Linked DNA regions of Homo sapiens: all the other regions are linked to region 4. The links are contacts of gene promoters, found by promoter capture Hi-C in blood cells and fetal thymus (Javierre and others, 2016). All regions are on one chromosome and are shown on one strand. The core of a region is centred on a gene start or on the middle of the fragment in contact, and the rest is flanking DNA. Distances in the headings are between cores, read along the strand shown.

Evidence for each region. Contacts are between HindIII fragments. The CHiCAGO score rates a contact against its expected background, and 5 or more counts as called.
Region 1: a contact is called between a fragment that was not itself captured here and the fragment with the promoter of TMEM165 in region 4, in 1 of 17 cell types (M1 macrophages). The highest score is 6.0, in M1 macrophages.
Region 2: a contact is called between a fragment that was not itself captured here and the fragment with the promoter of TMEM165 in region 4, in 6 of 17 cell types (total B cells, erythroblasts, naive B cells and 3 more). The highest score is 12.9, in total B cells.
Region 3: a fragment that was not itself captured here is called in contact with the fragment with the promoter of TMEM165 in region 4 in 1 of 17 cell types (endothelial precursors); the score reaches 5.2 in endothelial precursors.

What each region holds. Positions count from the first base shown.
Region 1 is chr4:54,967,678-54,970,851 of GRCh38, forward strand. No RefSeq gene overlaps it. Among named protein-coding and RNA genes, the nearest start is that of LINC02358, 120 kb to the left of the region's middle. The HindIII fragment of the contact is 3,052 bases long and covers 68-3,119 here.
Region 2 is chr4:55,865,480-55,868,803 of GRCh38, forward strand. EXOC1 (exocyst complex component 1) reads left to right here. Exons shown (of 19, transcript NM_001024924.2): 5 at 2,857-3,044. Among named protein-coding and RNA genes, the nearest start is that of EXOC1, 13 kb to the left of the region's middle. The HindIII fragment of the contact is 1,036 bases long and covers 1,011-2,046 here.
Region 3 is chr4:55,002,781-55,006,269 of GRCh38, forward strand. No RefSeq gene overlaps it. Among named protein-coding and RNA genes, the nearest start is that of KDR, 120 kb to the right of the region's middle. The HindIII fragment of the contact is 3,743 bases long and covers 348-3,489 here.
Region 4 is chr4:55,394,354-55,397,502 of GRCh38, forward strand. It overlaps TMEM165 (transmembrane protein 165), which reads left to right and starts at 1,604. Exons shown (of 6, transcript NM_018475.5): 1 at 1,604-2,043. The coding sequence starts at 1,837. RefSeq lists silencers at 1,410-1,609, 1,810-2,279. The HindIII fragment of the contact is 4,477 bases long and covers 142-3,149 here.

The DNA.
Region 1 (3,174 bases), core at 344-2,843, 430 kb before region 4:
AAGAGAGGAAGTAATGTATGAGCTAGGGTCTGGAAGGGTGAGAAGTCAAGGGGGTGTGGTGAAGAGAAGCTTTGCTCCAGGCAACTAAACCAATTAAACAAAGTCTGGAAAACTAAGGGCTCTGGCATTCTCAGCAGTAGGACTGTACTGTCTGACTGAGCTAAAGCCAAGGGTGTAAGCCTTTGGGAGTGATTTCCCTGGTAACCATATCAATAGATCCTGAAGAATAACCTTACCACCTGTGTCCAGGCCATAGGAGAACTGGCTAAACACTGGAGGTTCTGGGAGCAAAATTGCCCACATTGAACTTTTATTGGTGTTCATATTTGTATTAAGCACCTGCTCGTATACCAGGAAGTTCAGTAAGTATGAGTAAACCTCACTTAATCCTTACAAGTACCCTTTAAGTTGGGACTATGAGTATATATATACCCCAATCTGTAGATGAGAATACAGGTTTAGCAATGTAAATAATTGTGTCAAAATAATGAACTGAGCCAGGTTCGAACCGAGGTGAATATGACCCTAATCTCATATTCTTCCAAATCTCATATTCCTAACCACCTTTTCCCTGCAAGAGAAATTGTGAGACATGATCTTCCATTGAGGACTGTGTATGTAATTTCTTTCAATTTTATAGCATAAATCATATTTTGAAGGCCACATGACTCTTGCTAATTAGGATCAGGTAATTTTGTCCAACATTACACATGGGATTAATTATCCTGAGATGAAAAGAACTTCCACCCTCCACAACTGATTCAATACTGTTCCAAATGGTTGACCCAATCCCAGCTAAACCATTTGCTCTACTAGCCCCTCTAAGAATTATTCATTCCTCAGCATAGGCATTACATGTGGTTGGCTCCTTTTTCAAAAAGATCAGCCCTTCATCTTCCCCAAATCATGGGCCCATCGGTTCTCTGGAAAATTATTCCAAACTCCACAACACTTTTTCTCTTTTTTTTTTTTTATTAATTTTCTTTATTGTCTGTTTTCTTTTTTTATATACACTTTAACTTTTAGGGTACATGTGCACAATGTGCAGGTTTGTTACATATGTATACATGTGCCATGTTGGTGTGCTGCACACAGTAACTCCTCAGTTAACATTAGGTATATCTCCAAATGCTATCCCTCTCCCCTCCCCCCACCCCACAACAGTCCCCAGAGTGTGATGTTCCCCTTCCTGTGTCCATGTGTTCTCATTGTTCAGTTCCCACCTATGAGTGAGAACATGCAGTGTTTGGTTTTTTGTCCTTGCGATAGTTTACTGAGAATGATGATTTCCAATTTCATCCATGTCCCTACAAAGGATATGAACTCACCATTTTTTATGGCTGCATAGTATTCCATGGTGTATATGTGCCACATTTTCTTAATCCAGTCTATCGTTGTTGGACATTTGGGTTGGTTCCAAGTCTTTCCTATTGTGAATAGGGCCGCAATAAACATACGTGTGCATGTGTCTTTATAGCAGCATGTTTTATAGTCCTTTGGGTATATACCCAGTAATGGGATGGCTGGGTCAAATGGTATTTCTAGTTCTAGATCCCTGAGGAATCGCCACACTGACTTCCACAATGGTTGAACTAGTTTACAGTCCCACCAACAGTGTAAAAGTGTTCCTATTTCTCCACATCCTCTCCAGCACCTGTTGTTTCCTGACTTCTTAATGATCGCCATTCTAACTGGTGTGAGATGGTATCTCATTGTGGTTTTGATTTGCATTTCTCTGATGGCCAGTGATGATGAGCATTTTTTCATGTGTCTTTTGGCTGCATAAATGTCTTCTTTTGAGAAGTGTCTGTTCATATCCTTCGCCCACTTTTTGATGGGGTTGTTTGTTTTTTCTTGTAAATTTGTTTGAGTTCATTGTAGATTCTGGATATTAGCCCTTTGTCAGATGAGTAGATTGCAAAAATTTTCTCCCATTCTGTAGGCTGCCTGTTCACTCTGGTGGTAGTTTCTTTTGCTGTGCAGAAGCTCTTTAGTTTAATTAGATCCATTTGTCAATTTTGGCTTTTGCACAACACTTTTTTTCTAATGACTATAGGAACAGATTGAATATGAGAGCTAAGCAGATTTTAAATATAAGTATGTTTTTTACTAAAGCCCTTTGTATCAGTTAAGAATTGTGTTAAGCTCCAAGTAAAAGAGGTCCCCCAAAACATAGGTTTAAACAAATTAGGAAACTTATTTTTCTCAGGTAATGAAGAATGTGGACATGGGAGGTCCAGGGTGGGAATGGTAGCTCACAATTCACCAGGGACTTAGACTCCTTTTACATTTCTGTTCAGTCATCTTTAAAGGTTGTCTAGTGGCCTCAAGATGGCTGCCAGAGTTCTAGCCATCCTGTTCAAGCTCCAGACAAGAAGAATGAGAAGAGCAGTGGACAAAACAGTATGCCATGGGAGTCAACCCCTTTTTAAGGAGCTTCTCTAGGAAGTTCCTCTCAACAACTTCCACTTCTATTTCACCAGCCAAAACTTGGCTACTTCTATCTGCAAAGGAGTTTGGGAAATTTAGAGGATTTTTCTTTGTTTCATTATTTTCACACATCAGATAGATATATGGCTACTCCTTCCCCAGACAGGGTTCTATTAGGTAGGGAGAAAGTGAGAGGATAGGCTGGCCTGGCTAGTTAAAATAAGGCTGCTTTCTGAGTCAGATTCAGAGGAACTGGACTCTCAGAGGCACAGAAGCAGGCTCTGCCAGGCCTCAGGCTTCTACGTCAGGTAGGAAAATAACTTTGGTCCTGTGTCACATCTTCAGGGTTGGAGAAGGAGCATCTCTCTTTAAGGAACAAGAAGACTACATTTTTTAATTTCAGGGAATGATTGGGAACTTATCCCAGGTCAGCAGTGGGTCTGGGAAGGAGATCTGGACATTCTTCAAAGGAGATTTTGCCTTTTCCAGACTTCCCATTTCTATTCCTCTTGCATTCCTGTGCTCTAGTCCCTGCTGCAAATGAGAAACTTCACTTTTTTTTTTTTTTTAACAGGTCAGGGTGTTTGGGGATGTTGGTACAGAAGAAGAACAGTTATGTCTGCCTCAAATTTACCAGACAGAGCAGGTAACCCAATTTTTAAAGGCAGATGTATCCTAACCATCATCAAAGCTTCATTCACCTTTGAATTTAAGGTTTTGCCCTCAAACCATGATTTTTGTTAT
Region 2 (3,324 bases), core at 279-2,778, 470 kb after region 4:
TCTTGGTAATTGAGTGTGTAGAGGGAATGACCTTCAAGAAATTTATGGTAACTTTTCATGCCTTGAATCGTGGTTTAATTTGCTTCGAATGGCTTTTATTTTTTTTAACATTTCAGGGTTGAACATTCTGATGAGTCAGTGATTCAGTGATTCACAAGCTTGCTGTTCTGTCTTCAAATATTATGCATTTCCAGATGTTATTTATTGTGTAAGGTGATTTTAAACCAGTATATTTCAGGACAGTCATATAGAAAAATACATACCCTACCTGGATCTGCCTCATTAAGAAATACTACCAAAATCAGTGAGAAGAGTATTACTGTTTTTGAAAATGAAGTGTCTAACTTAAAAAAAAAAAGGCATTCAATTTTTCAGGCCATAAAACAAGAGTATAGACACGTTCATGTGTATAAACATTAACCCTAACTGAGATCGATTTTAAGAATACTGAGAAGATCCTTAAGGATCTCATTTTGAAAATCACTTGCTATATACGTCAGTAACTCTTGCTTTGGTTTAGTGGAGTTCAGGGAATAGCTTCATTAATGTCTACAAACTTGTTTTATGGACCTTGAAATTACAGCCTTTAATTCCCATTAAAAAAAAATGTCTCTAAGTTTTGAGTGATGTTAGAAAACAAATAAAAAATTATTACCACCCCAGTTTAAGAGCTCAATAATTAAGTAAGACTATTTTGATTATAAATGGTAGCAGTGGCAACTTGGTAGTTTTTATTGTTGACAATTGAATACGTAAGTTAAATAATGGGGCTCCTCAGCAGAATAAGGTTTGTAAAAGAGGACTTTTCAGCAGTTGAAGTAGATTGAAGTTTTTATTTGGCCTTTTTTTTCATTCTTTTACTTGCAACCAGCTTTTTAAAAAAGAATCTTTGACTTGAATCCTTAAATGCTGGCTTGAACTGTTATTTTGTGTAATTTTTTACTTGCCTCAATCTTGTCCTTTCTAACCATGTTTTGTGACTAATCCTCTGTGAGGGAGTGTCTGGGTAAAGCTTTTGGGCCTTAAGTAACATAACTAGGCTACATGCATGAGTCACAACTGACCTAAATATAATCCCCAGGAAATGATTAGTTTGCCAGGTTTCTCCTCTAAGGGTTAGTTAGTGCTGTTTCTTAAAAGACTAAGAGAAATTAGAAAGATAAATATATTTGTAGTCACTATCAGAAAGTGAATAAGAAAAATGAACACGGCAAATTTAGCTTCTTATGGATCTTTCCACTTGGTAGTTGATTTGGCTGTCTTTTGAACTTTAACATGAAGTTCAAATGAGATATGGGTAGTATTTTAAAAATTTAAGCCTGTTTACTTTTCTACCCAGCTAATATTCTTTGCTTACTTTCCTCTGCTTTTTTCATACTTTTTACTCTCCAGAACTGCCTAAAGTTACAGAAGGTGCGTAACACCTTTTCTTCTTCTATTCCATATGTTTTTATTAGTTGCCTTTGTTATATACCGTTGGTTGTATGTTTTATGAAATGATGTACTGGGACAAATTTATTTTAAAAATCTACATAGTAATAAAATTAATGATAGTATTTATTATTGGCTTTCAAGGACATATCATTAGAAAATACTTCTGAAGCAGTTAATTATAATCATGTAAAATATTTGTTTAAGTCTACTTGTGTAAGGACCTGTACAGAATGATTTGGGCAGTCCCTGCCCCCTAGTGGCTAATAAGCTGTCACACATGACAGTTGAACTTTTTCGCAGTGAATTAAATGGACTCGTTGAAAGGACAAGGAGATCGGTAATATCTCTCTAAAGAACTTATATACTAAAATCTGTAATTGCCTGTACCAAAAGTTTTAGTCTTCTTTTTGTTCTGGGACAAATGAACGTATTTCAGGTCATGCTGAATGTAAATATTCATTTTCCTATAAAATAATGAATACTAAAAGCATCCAGAGTTTGTGGTTTAAATCATGCCCCATTAAGTCTGTGAAATTGCTAACTTTATTTAGAGTGATAAAACAACATCTTAGGAGTTAAAAATGATTTCTTTCATTTTACCTCCTAACCTCAAGCTTTATATACAGTGCTCACATGCTAGTGTATTTCCTCAAAAAAAAAAAAAAAATGAACTGAAACATCTAGAAAGCATTTCAGGTTTGACCTCTTGGTCTTTTGTTATAAAGCATGAAGCCTGTTTAACTTTTTATAATTTCAAACAGCCATGTTGTTGTTGCTCTTACTTAGAGTTATTGAGAAAGCTGTAACTTATCTTTAGAAATGTTATCAATGCATGTGAAATTTTTTTAAGCAAAGAAATGGATAATTCAGTTAATATTCTAGTGACCAAAATAAATTATGGATTATAGATGCATTTTTCATTTTAATTAAAAAGTATTTGGCAAAAATATACATACTGAAGATGAAAGTAACAAAAGTAACAAAAGAAAAATTTCACCTGGGAAAAAAAGGAAAGCAAATTGTTTTTGTGTGTACTGAATTCATAGTCATTGTTTTGTTAGAGCAACAGCCACATCAGGTACGAAAAAATGTTTAGGTTTGTTCCCACCTGTTTTTGTATTTTGTTTTTACATTTTAGCTTAATTGTATTTTGGGAAACTGTGGTGAAAGCCTGTTTTAACATTTGTAAGTTAGTGCATTAGACTGCATGCTTTTTATTTATTTTTTAGAACTTTATTTCATTAACATATTAAATTATTTATAAAAATAAAGTTTGATTTTTTCATATCATTTGAATCATTCTATCCTCTTTTTCAGCTGCTAAATGTGACCTGTGCTTATAACTATACCTACCTATATGTATTATGTTATAGTCTTTTCTACTTTTTTGACTATTTTACTTTGAATTTTTACCTCTTTAAGAATCTGTTCCAAGTGGAGAAAATCAGAGTGTGACAGGAGGTGATGAAGAAGTAGTAGATGAATACCAAGAGTTAAATGCAAGAGAAGAACAGGATATCGAAATAATGATGGAAGGCTGTGAATATGCAATCTCGAATGCGGAAGCCTTTGCAGAAAAATTGTCCAGAGAGCTGCAGGTGCTAGATGGGGTAAGACTTTCCTGAATTCTATGAATAAGTGATGTATAGTGGATTGAGAAGGCTAATGATGTTCATATTATACTACCTCAGCACTTAAGCCTTTATAGTGTGTTATTGCCATCTTTATCTATAAGCACATTACCAGCTGCCATCAGTCTTTTACTGTTCTTGTTCAAAAGATGAACTATTCCTGTTAAGCCAATGAAGACAGTTGGCTGAGATTCTGGATTTGGGGAGGTTCTTGATATGAAGTGACTGGAGTAAAAACTAGGCCAGAGAACATCTTGGG
Region 3 (3,489 bases), core at 969-3,468, 390 kb before region 4:
AAATTCATATGTTGAAATCCTAACCCCCAAGCTGATGGTAATAGGAGGTGGGGCCTTTGGGTGGAAGGTGATTAGGACATGAAGGAGGAGCCCTCATGAATGGGATTAGTGCCCTTATGAGAAGAGACCCAAGAACTTGCTTCCTCTCTCTGTTCTCCACCATGTGAGACACAATGAGAAGACAGCCACCTACAAATCAGGAAGAAGGCCATCACCAGGAACCAAATAAGCTAGTACCTTGATCTTGGACTTCCCAGCCTCCACAACTATGGGAAATCAATTTCTGTTGTTTAAGCCACTCAATCTATGGTATTCTATTATAGCAAACTTTACCAACTAAGACAATAAGCTTCTTTGTATAATGTATACACAATTATTTGTGTATTTCTTTCCCCATCACTGAGCTATGGACCCAGGGAACAAAAGCCATATATATATATTTTAATCTCATATTCCCAGAAGACCTAGCACACATGTGCTTCACACATGAAGTCATTGGATACATACATCAAACTGAATCAGCTTCAGGTCTGCCGAGGCATAGGTGATGGATTCCCTAAAGCGGATGGACACAATGGCAAAACACTGTTCAGAGAGGTTCCCTGACCTATCCAAGGTTTCACTTAATAGATATATTATGAAGGAGATAACTTTATAAAAACCATTACTTCATTTGCTAAAGCCCTTCATGAGACAACTCCTTCAGAACTAAAAGCAAAATACTTCACTTGCTGAGGAAAAGGTATTTTTCCATTTGTGCATAATAAATGACCATGTTTCCTTCTCTGCTTTGACCACGAGGAAGCTCTGAGGCAAATTTACTGCTCAGTCATTGCAAGTGTGTAAGATCTTTTGGGTTTGCTCATCTCCCTTCCGCACTTGTTCTAATTTCATTTATCTGGTGCTGCTACTTAATTTTAAATTTGTATTTTATTATATGTATTTTCTATATATTCTTTGTAGAACAAGATATGTGATATTAATAGGCCAGTTATGGCTCAACTAATAACAGTTTGAAAGTACATGGATACCTGAGATAACAGTGCTGAGTGACTAGAACAAGGGGTTACATGCTTGGTTCTTATAAGGTAGGAGGCTTTGTTTTTCTAAAATGTAACTCCTGCTCTGGAGATGCTACTGGTGGTGAGAGCACTTCCCTGGGCTTCTGCCCTGACCAGTGATGAAATATTTACCCTCAGCAGGTTCTCTCTTCTAGTATAGGGTAGTGTTGCTTACTGTTCAACTCCACTTGGATTAATCAGTTAATGTGTGAAATCATTTTGAATATGAAAAGTTCTGGGTCAGGTACGCAGCAGTCATTGCTGTCTGAGTTACTATGCTAATCCTTGCCTTTGTGAGAGAGGAGTGTGCTTAAAGTCCTTCTATGAAACCATTCCTCTCAGGAGTCTGTCAAAGTCACCAGAAAAATAGGTAGATCCAGCCATTGGCAAAGAGGGACCCAACCTGGGCATCTGAATATGACTCAGAGAAACCAAACACGAGACATAGAAAGAGGTTGCAGGCAAGAATCTAGGGCTTGCAGGGGCACCAGACCATCAAGACTTCCAGGAGAAATTACGGAAACATCTGCAAGGTTAAGTCAGGAAGTCCAGGGGCTACTTCCCAGAGAGGGAAGTGCCTTTCTTGGGACTGCTGCTACAGAGCTGAAACGGTGCATAACCTGGGGCCAAGGAGGCTGATTGAAGATGAGGGATTAGACTCCAAGAAGGATCAAGAATCCATCAACTCAACTCCACTCCTTCAGCCACACCGAGGTGAGGACAAGCCTTGGGCTTTGGGACACAGTGAACTCTGCATTAACCAGGCCAAGAAGTGGCTCCATGTTAACTGCATTACAAGAAAGAATTTATGTTCAGCAAATCTCTTGACCACATTTGCTTCTGTTCCCTCCCAGCCTTTGCCAACCATGGCACTACAAAGAGCTAATCATCAAAAGATAAAGCAAATAGGTTTCATTGCTGAGTGATAATCAAACAGTTGCCAAAACTTTGCAATCTTAGTGCTTGGAAAATACAAGGTCTACAAAACCTCAGCTGAAGAACAGATAATTAGCCAGAAAAATCTAGGAGGGGCTTGGACTGCTTTGGGCATGAAAGGAATGTCTTTCTTCAACTCCACAGGGATGTGGTGAGGTAGGAGTGGGGTGGGGGCTGGACTATTGGATACTCACTGCAAGTTCTGCCAGCTTGGCAACACATCTCCTGCTTCTCTGGGCTGGCTCACCCAGCACAAATTCAACCCTTTGCTTGTTGCATATCCTTTTACATTTCCCCAGAGGGAGCTCACTCTCAGCCTTCCCACTTAGAATCACCACCCTTGGGACCCCAACACTTTAGATCCGTCCAGCATTGTTCAGCCTGACAGATGACCCAGCCTCCTGGTTTTCTTAAAATAACAAGAGAACATTTGCTCTCTGGAAATACAAGGTCGCATCCAAATTTAAAGAAGAAAAATAGGAGAGGAAAGCATTCAAACAAAACTCTTGGAATTGGGCTCCTGTGGTAACATTTGGAATAAAGGAAAACAGGAAAGCAATTGCAATATTAAAAATAGATGATTTCCTGCATGTAAATTCTTTGCTGACCTTGTTGATTGCAGCATGGTCCATGTTTGCTGGCTTGCCACCTTCTGACTTCATGAGAGTTCATACCAAGGGACAGTTCTCAGGGCTCAGAATTCAACCCCTAGTTAAAAAGCATTTGTTTACAAATCTGCCTATTGGCATCAACCCTTTTCTCTTTAATCCTTGATGCTTATCGGAGATTAATTATTTATCCTTTGTTTTATTCCTATGTGTCCAGGAGGAACGTACTGAATATCAAGAATACTTCAGAGGATCCTGGAGCAGACATGGTACCTCCACATAACACAGTGCACCTTGATGATATTAGCATCCACTGCCAATAAGCATAAAAGTAATCATGGGAAAGGTAATGCATTATCTGGCTGAAAGAGCATTCATCCCTCAATGGATACTTAATCAGCAGCCAGGCACTACTCTATGCTCTGGGGTCACACCCATGCCCTCAGCAACTTTATATGCTAGTTGGGTGAAATAAACAATAAACATAGTAAATAAGTTAGATAATATGCTATAAGATAGGTATATAAAAAAAGAAAAAGTAAAGTGGAGTAGGGGGATTGGGCAAGTAAGGTATTAAATACAATAGAGAAGGCCTTAGGAAAAAGGTAAAATTTGAGCACAGGTTTACTGTGAAGGGAGTAGCTAGGCAGATATGTTGATAAAGTTTCCAGCCTGGCACAGCAGCCTGAGCAAAGGCCCTGAGGCAGGACCATGATAATTAGTTGACAGCAAGATCTGGTGTCTCTCTCTTTCACTGTCAGGGAGGTCTGAGACAAGGCAGCAGTTAGTTATTCTCTGTGGGTAGCAGAGAGAGTGGCTTTGAAGCAGAAGGAGCAATGATGAAATGGTTTCGTTGATGAAAAAATGGGCAGCTTTTGGAATTG
Region 4 (3,149 bases), core at 354-2,853:
GTTTTTCTTTTAACACACCCCAAACTGTAAGTGGAGGCATCCTACTTACACAGTAATAGAAGAATGCATAAAGCAATAACATGAAGGAACAAGTGACAAATTCTGTAACGCCATGTGTTGGGGAAAAGTTCTGAGAGTGGAAGCTTGAATAGGTTTTGGAAGTATGAGTAGGAGTTTACAAGGAGAGAATGGAAGAAGGGGAATTACGGACAGAATAACATGGACGGAGGCCGGCCGCGGTGGCTCACACCTGTAATCCCAGCACTTTGAGAGGACGAGGCCGGCAGATCACCTGAGGTCTGGAGTTCGAGACCAGCCTGACCAACATGGAGAAACCCCATCTCTACTAAAATTACAAAGTTAGCCGCGTATGGTGGAGCATGCCTGTAATCCCAGCTACTCGGGAAGCTGAGGCAGGAGAATCTCTTGTACCCGGGAGGAGGAGGTTGCAGTGGGCCGAGATCTCACCATTGCACTCCATCCTGAGCAACAAGCGCGAAACTCCGTCTCAAAAACAAAAACAAAGAAAACAACAAAACAAAAAAACAGACGGAAATTTTATTATCCTGTGACAAACACTGTATCTTTGGTGAACTCAAAGTAGGTTTGCCCACTTTCCCACAGATTGTTTTGGTGGATTAATTTTTTGTTTCAGTTAGTGATAAACTTCCTTAGCTCTTTACTGAGTACAGGTTTACTGTATGTAAATATGTATAATATTAGATTAGTGCCTGGCACATGGTTAGCACTATCGATTTTTATTAGGGACTAGGTCTCAAACTTATGGTAATTAAGTAGCTCACTTTTTCTTTTGGGAAGACGTAAAAATATTCTCAAGCCTAACTCAAGACCATCCTTTCCTGTCTTCTAGTCTTGCCCACTCAAAGCTCCATCCTGCAAAAGTCTTAAACAGTCCATTTCAAAAGCCCAGCATTTTTAAAGGGTCTAAGGAATAGCACAAAACAAGATGCACCCAAAACGTCAAGGCCATACTGGACAAGGGCAACGTTAGCCATTTTTGGTCTGGGGTAATTATAGGCAGTATCTTAAAACAAGGCTTGAAAAATGTCATGTTATTTCCAAATCCCATTTCAGAACTTTAAAAAAAAAATAGCATTTTGAGCTCCTAAGAACGTTTTTGGCGGTAGGTGGCCACATGGAGGGTGGCACAGAGGCTCGGCGGGGGAGAGCGGAACAGAGCTGGGCGTGGCAGTGCCTGCGAGTCAGCGCCACGTAACCAGAGGCGCTCGCACTAATTTGACCTCTAAGAGAGACTAAGCGCAGGGAACAGCGGGTGCGGACATTACGGCGGAAGGCTCTGGAGGAAGCAGAAGTGAAGGACCTCGCAGTCCTGGGACGGTGGGGCACAGAGAGAGAAAGGGAGCCCCGGGCGCGGCGCGGTGAGGATGCGAGCAGAGGAAGGACACGCGGCGCCGGGTACCTGCCGGGAGCGCCGGATCCAATGGGAGGAGGGCCCGCGCCGCACCTCAACCTGGCAGAGGACGTCACGACGCCAAGGCGGTCGCCGGGCCAATGGGAGGCCGTCGCGGGCAGGGACGGGGCCGGGAGGAGTCGGGGCTGGGCCGCGCCGAGGCAGCTGGCTGACTCCAGTTTAGCCGCCGCCGGAGAGGACGGGCGCCGAGCCGGGGCTGCGGACTTCGGCCTGCCCCTCACCTCACTCCCGCTGCTTGCACCTCCCGGATGGTGCTGACTGCTCCCTAAGCGGCGGCGGCGGCGAGTCGTGAGGACGCGCCGCGGAGGCTGTTCGGGGTCGAGGCTTCCCGTCGCCGGCACTTCCTCTTGCGGCGCCCGTGCGCGGCCGGCCCGGCAGGCGGGATGGCGGCCGCGGCTCCAGGGAACGGCCGCGCATCGGCGCCCCGGCTGCTTCTGCTCTTTCTGGTTCCGCTGCTGTGGGCCCCGGCTGCGGTCCGGGCCGGCCCAGATGAAGACCTTAGCCACCGGAACAAAGAACCGCCGGCGCCGGCCCAGCAGCTGCAGCCGCAGCCTGTGGCTGTGCAGGGCCCCGAGCCGGCCCGGGTCGAGGTGAGCGGGCCGGGATGGGGCGAGCGAGGCTGCAGGGCCGGCTGCGCCGAGTACCAGGCTCCAGGCCTTTGAAAGCGCCGCACTCCGCCGGCCTCGGCTGGGGGAGGGGAGCCCGGCCCCTGCTCCCGGGGTGGAGGGCGGTCGGCTGCGCTGTTTTCCGGTGAGGCCTGGTCTTGCCCGCTCCTTTAGGGAAAGGGAGAGGGAGAGTCCAAGAGGAGCCCGCTATAAACGTTGATCTCCGGAGGGCCAAGATGCTGCTCCGGGATGGGCGTTTTATTGATCAGATGTGTCTTAGAGTAGCTAGAAAGACTCATCCCTACCAAAAAGTTTTTAACAGAAGGCTGCTAGGAGGCTTTTTGTATTCCCTGAGGATCATCACATCGGCCATTTCATTGTTGAAATAGCTTATGCCAAACTGCTTACCCAAATTCAACTTGGCACTGCCTGTGCTTTTTGCCAAATATGGATTATGAACCATGACTCTCACTTTTTAAAAATGTGCTTTGGCTAGCAGGAAGTAGCCTTTAGGAACGCAGAGGAATTAGTCTCCGGCAGTACAGCGTGCTGCAGCGATGTGGGATGCCAAAACTACATTTATAAGTAAAACAGAATCCTGTATTTTGTCCTTCCCTGAATAGATACTAGAAATCAACTTTTTAATCTGTTAATAGAATTAGTCCTTAGTCACTTGGCAGCGTTTTAACATTTCTCCCTTCTCCCAGTCGTGGGCTTTGTCGTCATTTCCAGTATCTGCTCCCTGAATCCCGGCCAGTGTGGCACTCAAACCCCCACTCCCACCCAGGCCACATCCAGCCCATCTCCACGTAACTAATCTTCCCGAACATTGAATTCTGCCATCTTGTCAGAAGTCGTCGGTGAGTTGCCTCCACTAATTTCAGTCCAGCCTTTTTAGGAGAGTGATGTTCAGGTTTCTTCTGATCTGGCTCCAGCTCACCTCCAGGCTTTTTAGCCACCGCTTTCTTGCTCATATGCTAAAGGGATATGCTCATCTGCAAAAAAGAATGTGCTTCAAGAGCCCTTTGGGACAGGCTTTGTGCTCTCTTGCCAGTTCCTCCCTAACACAAGACCTTTTCAAAGAAAAAAAA